Linked DNA regions of Homo sapiens: region 1 is linked to region 2. Evidence: promoter capture Hi-C in 16 types of primary human blood cells and fetal thymus (Javierre and others, 2016). All regions are on one chromosome and are shown on one strand. Each heading gives the region's core, a stretch centred on a gene start or on the middle of the fragment in contact. The rest is flanking DNA. Distances are from core to core; before and after follow the strand shown. Region 1 holds the start of ZNF764 (zinc finger protein 764). Region 2 holds the start of HIRIP3 (HIRA interacting protein 3).

Region 1 (2,700 bases), core at 83-2,582, 560 kb before region 2:
TCACGACCCTCTCACGGGGACCCCCTTAGAGTTGTGAGCCCTTAAAAGGGACAGGGATTGCTCACTCGGGGAGTCGGTTTTTGAGATGTGAGTCTTGCCGATGCTCCCAGCCGAATAAAACCCTTCCTTCAACTCGGTGTCTGAGGGGTTTTGTCTGTGGCTTGTCCTGCTACAACAGGACATGTATGAAGTCACGTGGAGCACAGAATAGACCATCAGAAAGTGAGAGAGAGGTCTGGGGGAGAGTTGGTGACATTTACTAGATAAAGACCCTAGGGGAAGCAGATTGGGGCAAGAAAGGGATGAGTTGGATTTGAGTAGAGGAGCCTTGGGCCATCTGTCCAGGGGCAGGATGTGAGGGGAGGTGAGAGCCCGGCTGCAGCTACAGGGAGACTGGCAATTGGGAGGCGTCCTGAGCAGCACATGGGAGAAGCTCCTAGAAGAGAGGACCCTCTGACTTTCTCAACCTTACCCTACTCTCCCCACTGCCTCCGCCATCTAGAAACTTCCAGAATTTCAGGCCCCAACAAGCCTACGATGGAGGAGGTTCTCCTGTATCCACTCCTTTTTCTTTCTTTCTTTCTTTTTTATTTTTGAGACAGAGTTTCGCTCTGTCGCCCAGGCTGGAGTGCGGTGAGGCAATCTCGGCTCACTGCAAACTCCGCCTCGCGCGTTCAAGCGATACTCCTGCCTCAGCCTCCCCAGTAGCTGGGATTACAGGTGCACGCCACCACACCTGGCTGTTTTTTTGTGTGTTTTTAGTGGAGACGGGGTTTCACCATGTTGGTGAGGCTGGTCTCGAACTTCTGACCTCAGTTGTTCCGCTGGCCTCGGCCTCCCAAACTGCTGATTACAAGCGTGAGCCACTGCGCCACGCCCACTCCATTGGTTTTTTTACACTCAACATTGGGAAGAGACTGCTGTTGCCCTGTTTCTGAGATAACAAGGACAAAACGAGAGAGTGATGAGCTGGAGCCCGATTATAAAACGGTCCACAAACGAAAACTAATGCCTGAGTTCAGTAAGGCCGGGAGGCCAGCTCACTCCCGCGAGGCGCTCTTTTGTTCGTGCAAACCGGGGCGGAGCTCTCTGCTGCACCGCCTCGCCGGGCCGGGGCGGAGCTCTCTGCTGCACCGCCTCGCCGGGCCGGGGACTAAACATGCGCGGCTAGTTTTCAAGGCCGGCCTCTGTATTAGTCACCGCGGCCATTTTGGATGAGGGTACGGAGAGAACGCGGACTGGAGATACCGGGGGCGTTGTCTTGGGCACGACTGCGTAGGGGCAAAGGTCGAGTACCCGCGCCGCCGCCATTTTTTATGAGGGCATATTCCATTTCTGATTATACACCCGCTGCCATCGGCACCGTTAGTTTCCACGCCCTCTAGTGCGCCCTCGGGGGCCCTAGTAACCTCCCTCCTTCCCTTGGGCCCGGGCCGGGGAGGCTTTCTCGGGCGCAGGAGGTTCCGCAGGCCCAGGCCAGGCCAGGGGAGGCAGCCGATCCGTCGTCGGGGTTGACAGTTACCATGGCGCCGCCTCTGGCCCCGCTCCCTCCCCGGGACCCAAACGGGGCCGGACCCGAGTGGAGGGAGCCGGGGGCTGTGAGCTTCGCGGACGTGGCCGTGTACTTCTGCCGGGAGGAGTGGGGCTGCTTGCGGCCAGCGCAGAGGGCCCTGTACCGGGACGTGATGCGGGAGACCTACGGCCACCTGAGCGCTCTCGGTGAGAGCCCCACCTGCTCGCCTGAGCCCTGCGCCCCCACAGGCCCTGCCGCGCCTCTGGGAGCTGCGCGTGAAGTTGGGGGCCCCGGGGCCGGGCAGGTGGCCTCCCCGCAGCGTGGGGTTTGCGTTCTTCTTCCCTAGGAATCGGAGGCAACAAGCCAGCTCTCATCTCCTGGGTGGAGGAGGAGGCCGAACTGTGGGGTCCGGCTGCCCAGGATCCGGAGGTGGCGAAATGTCAGACACAAACGGACCCAGGTGGAGTATCGGGTGCTCAGTCCCATGGGGACTTCTCTGTTCCTGTCCCATCCCGGTACCCTCTGCCACCTCCAGCTACCTGCTTAGCAGTTTCCTCTCTGAACTGCCTTCTCAACTGCGACGACGAGGCTGAGCCCCTGCGTGGCTCCCAGATGCAGCCTAGAAAGGAGCTGTGATGGGGGCTCTGGCCCTGCCATACCCGCCTCTGAGTCCTCACCTCTGCGTGGTCACTACACTCTGGGGGCTTTTTTTGGTGTTTTTGTTTTAGAGACAGGGTCTCGCTTTGTTGTCTAGGCTGAGTGCAGTGGCGGCATCATAGCTCACTGTAGCCTGGAACTCCCGGGCTTAAGCAGTCCTTCCACCTGGGCCTCCAGAGTAGCTAAGACTGTACAGGTGCTCGCCACGAAGCCTGGGTAATTTTTTTTTTTAGACAGAGTTTTACTCCGTTGCCCAGGCTGGAGTGCAGTGGTGCCATCTCAGTTCACTGCAACCTCCCACTCCCAGGTTCAAGTAATTCTCCTGTATCAACCTCCCAAGTAGCTGGGATTACAGGCGCCCGCCACCAAGCCTGCTTAATTTTTTTTTTTTTTTTTGAGACAGAGTCTTCCTCTGTCGCGCAGGCTGGAGTGCAGTGGCGCCATCTCGGCTCAGTGCAAGCTCCGCCTCCCTGGTTGACGCCATTCTCCCGCCTCAGCCTCCCCAGTAGCTGGGACTACAGGCGCCCGCC
Region 2 (2,807 bases), core at 307-2,806:
CCTATGACCTAAAATTCTAGTCTATTGTCTTCATTTACTTATTCTTCCCAACTAGAATATAAATTACAAGAGGCCAAGGGCTTTGCCTATCTCTGCCTCTGCTGTATCCCCTGTGCCAAGCACAGTGCCTGAAACACAATAGGTGCTCAGTAAGTGCCTGAATGAAAGAACGGTGGAGGTGGAAGGCAAGCAACTAGGCTTAAGGACCACTGGGGGCTGCATCAGCCACCACTGCCTAAAAGGCGGGGGCCCAGGAAGCTTGCTAAGTACCAGGAACCATGCTCTCCACCAATTTTTGAAGACCTTGCTCACCCGAAGAGTCTTCATCCACGTTCTCGTACTGCAGAAGTCGGTCTAGGAGGAAACTGAGGGGAGGGAAGGAGACACGGACAGTGATTTTCCAGCGCAGCAATGTCCTCCTGGGTACCTGTCCCTCCCAGCTGGCCCATCGGATACTTGAAAGAGCCCATGCACTTGTGGCCCTACTCGGGGATGGGGTCCGAATGTAGATTTCCTAGGAAGCACATCGCCCTCCGCCCCTGCAACGTGCCTCACCTCTTGTCCCGGGACACCTTCAGTAATTTCCTTTGCGCTTTCCTCAGCTCCTCCTGGAAGCACTCGTGCTCCTGTATCACGGGCAAGGGGTGCGCTGGGCCAACGGTCCTCCGTGAAGGGCCCCGGAACCAGCGGCCGCTCGCCCCACCCACTTTACACCTGGGTAAACTGAGATCTTGTCCGCGCCAGGCCTCATCCCCCACAGCCTTCCCGCGGCAGCACTCACGTAGATGAGGAACTTGAGCTTCCGCTTCAGATTCCGGTATTTTTTTTTGTAGTCCACTTCGCCGTCCGCCGGCCCGTTCATGACCGGCCCGGGAGTGGCGCCCAGAGTCTGCCCTCCCGCTACCCCAAGCAGTGGCTGCCGTGCCGCTCCCGCCTCCACTTCCGGAGACGCTGCAAGGCTGTGCCGTCAGGACTACAACTCCCGGCGTACCCCGCGCTCAGGGGCGTCACCGCACGGGCCGACCTCCCGGGGGACACTGGGACAGGAGCGCGGCAGCCACTGCGCTGGGGATGGCGTAGCAGCGACGCGGTGACGCCACAAAAATGGCGGACGCTGGAAAGCGCCGTTCCTGACTCTAATGTACTTAGACACTTGAAGCCACAAAAGGATTTATCCCCGAGGTTCCTCATCTGCTCGCGAGGATGCCTTTTCTCTTCTGCCTTGCGAAATAACAGCAGCCTAGCTGTTGCCCGTGACCAGTGAGAAAGGCAGCGTCGCGGGCTGATTAGGTTTCACCCAAAGGGTGCCGGCGCCGAATTGGTTTCTAACGAGAACTTTTAAAATGATCCGTTCCAAAAAAGGGTAGGAGCCGCGAGACCCTCCAACTGCCCAGAGAAAACAAGTCTCGTCTGGCAAAGTTCTCGGCCCACGCGGTCCGCGGCCAAGGGCCAACGGTCCCTCGCCCCACGTTGCCGCAGCACTGCGCGTGCGCGAGCCGCTGTCAAACGCGCTGACGGAGGCCGAGAAGAAAAAAAGGCGGGAGCCGTCAATCCCGGGTTGAGCAAAATGGCGCGGGAGAAGGAGATGCAGGAGTTCACCCGTAGCTTCTTCCGAGGCCGCCCGGACCTCAGGTGCCCAGGGGGTTGGAGATGGGGTTGGAAAGGGCGCGGGTGGGTCGGGACTCCGTCCTGACACCATGTCCCTGCAGCACGCTTACGCATTCCATCGTGCGGCGGAGGTACTTAGCTCACTCGGGCCGCAGCCACCTGGAGCCCGAGGAGAAGCAGGCACTGAAGCGGCTGGTGGAGGAGGAGCTGCTGAAGATGCAGGTGTGCCGGGCCGGAGCCTGGGCCGCGGGAGGCGGAGGCGGGGCTTGCTGCTGAGGAGGAGGGGCCTGACGGGGCGCGGTGAGCGCAGCCTTGGTGCATAGTTTGCCCTCTTGGCGCACACACAGGTGGATGAAGCCGCTTCCAGGGAAGACAAACTGGACCTTACCAAGAAGGGCAAGAGGCCTCCCACCCCTTGTAGCGACCCGGAGAGAAAAAGGTTCCGCTTCAATTCAGAGTCGGGTTAGTGCTTCCTCCCTGCTGTGGGGGCCTTCTGCATCGTTGGTTCACTCAAGAAGCATTCACTGCGCATCTCTTATGTCCCCAGGCGTTAGATGAGGGAGCAAGGCTAGTGAGTCAGGAACCGGGAACAGCAAGTACAGATAGCTGTTTCCTGCTGCCCCTCCAACTGTCAGGGCAGGGCTCGAGGCAACCTATCCGAAGTGAAGGGAGAAGGGACAGGAGGAGCCTGTCTCAACCCTCTCTCCTCTCCATATTCCAGAGTCCGGCTCTGAAGCCTCCAGCCCAGACTACTTTGGACCCCCAGCAAAGAATGGGGTGGCAGCAGAAGTCAGCCCAGCCAAAGAGGAGAATCCAAGGCGAGCCTCAAAGGCAGTTGAGGAGAGCAGTGATGAGGAACGGCAGAGGGACCTGCCCGCACAGAGGGGAGAGGAGAGCAGTGAGGAGGAGGAAAAGGGGTACAAGGGGAAGACTAGGAAGAAACCTGTGGTAAAGAAGCAGGCACCAGGCAAGGCCTCAGTCAGTAGGAAGCAGGCCAGGGAAGAAAGTGAGGAGAGCGAGGCAGAACCCGTTCAGAGGACAGCAAAGAAGGTGGAGGGAAATAAAGGAACTAAAAGCCTGAAGGAAAGTGAACAGGAGAGTGAAGAGGAGATCCTAGCCCAGAAGAAAGAGCAGAGAGAGGAGGAAGTGGAGGAGGAAGAGAAAGAAGAGGATGAGGAAAAGGGGGATTGGAAACCCAG

Evidence for each region. Contacts are between HindIII fragments. The CHiCAGO score rates a contact against its expected background, and 5 or more counts as called.
Region 1: a contact is called between the fragment with the promoter of ZNF764 here and the fragment with the promoter of HIRIP3 in region 2, in 6 of 17 cell types (non-activated CD4 T cells, fetal thymus, naive CD4 T cells and 3 more). The highest score is 6.5, in non-activated CD4 T cells.

The regions. Positions count from the first base shown.
Region 1 is chr16:30,557,006-30,559,705 of GRCh38, reverse strand. It overlaps ZNF764 (zinc finger protein 764), which reads left to right and starts at 1,332. Exons shown (of 3, transcript NM_001172679.2): 1 at 1,332-1,719; 2 at 1,860-1,973. The coding sequence starts at 1,524. RefSeq lists enhancers at 1,203-1,342, 1,883-2,444. The HindIII fragment of the contact is 20,167 bases long and covers 1-2,700 here.
Region 2 is chr16:29,994,366-29,997,172 of GRCh38, reverse strand. It overlaps HIRIP3 (HIRA interacting protein 3), which reads left to right and starts at 1,556. Exons shown (of 7, transcript NM_003609.5): 1 at 1,556-1,632; 2 at 1,710-1,830; 3 at 1,956-2,070; 4 at 2,330-2,807. The coding sequence starts at 1,568. INO80E (INO80 complex subunit E) reads right to left here and starts at 932. Exons shown (of 7, transcript NM_173618.3): 1 at 782-932; 2 at 556-626; 3 at 313-365. The coding sequence starts at 862. RefSeq lists enhancers at 849-978, 1,039-1,208. The HindIII fragment of the contact is 4,684 bases long and covers 261-2,807 here.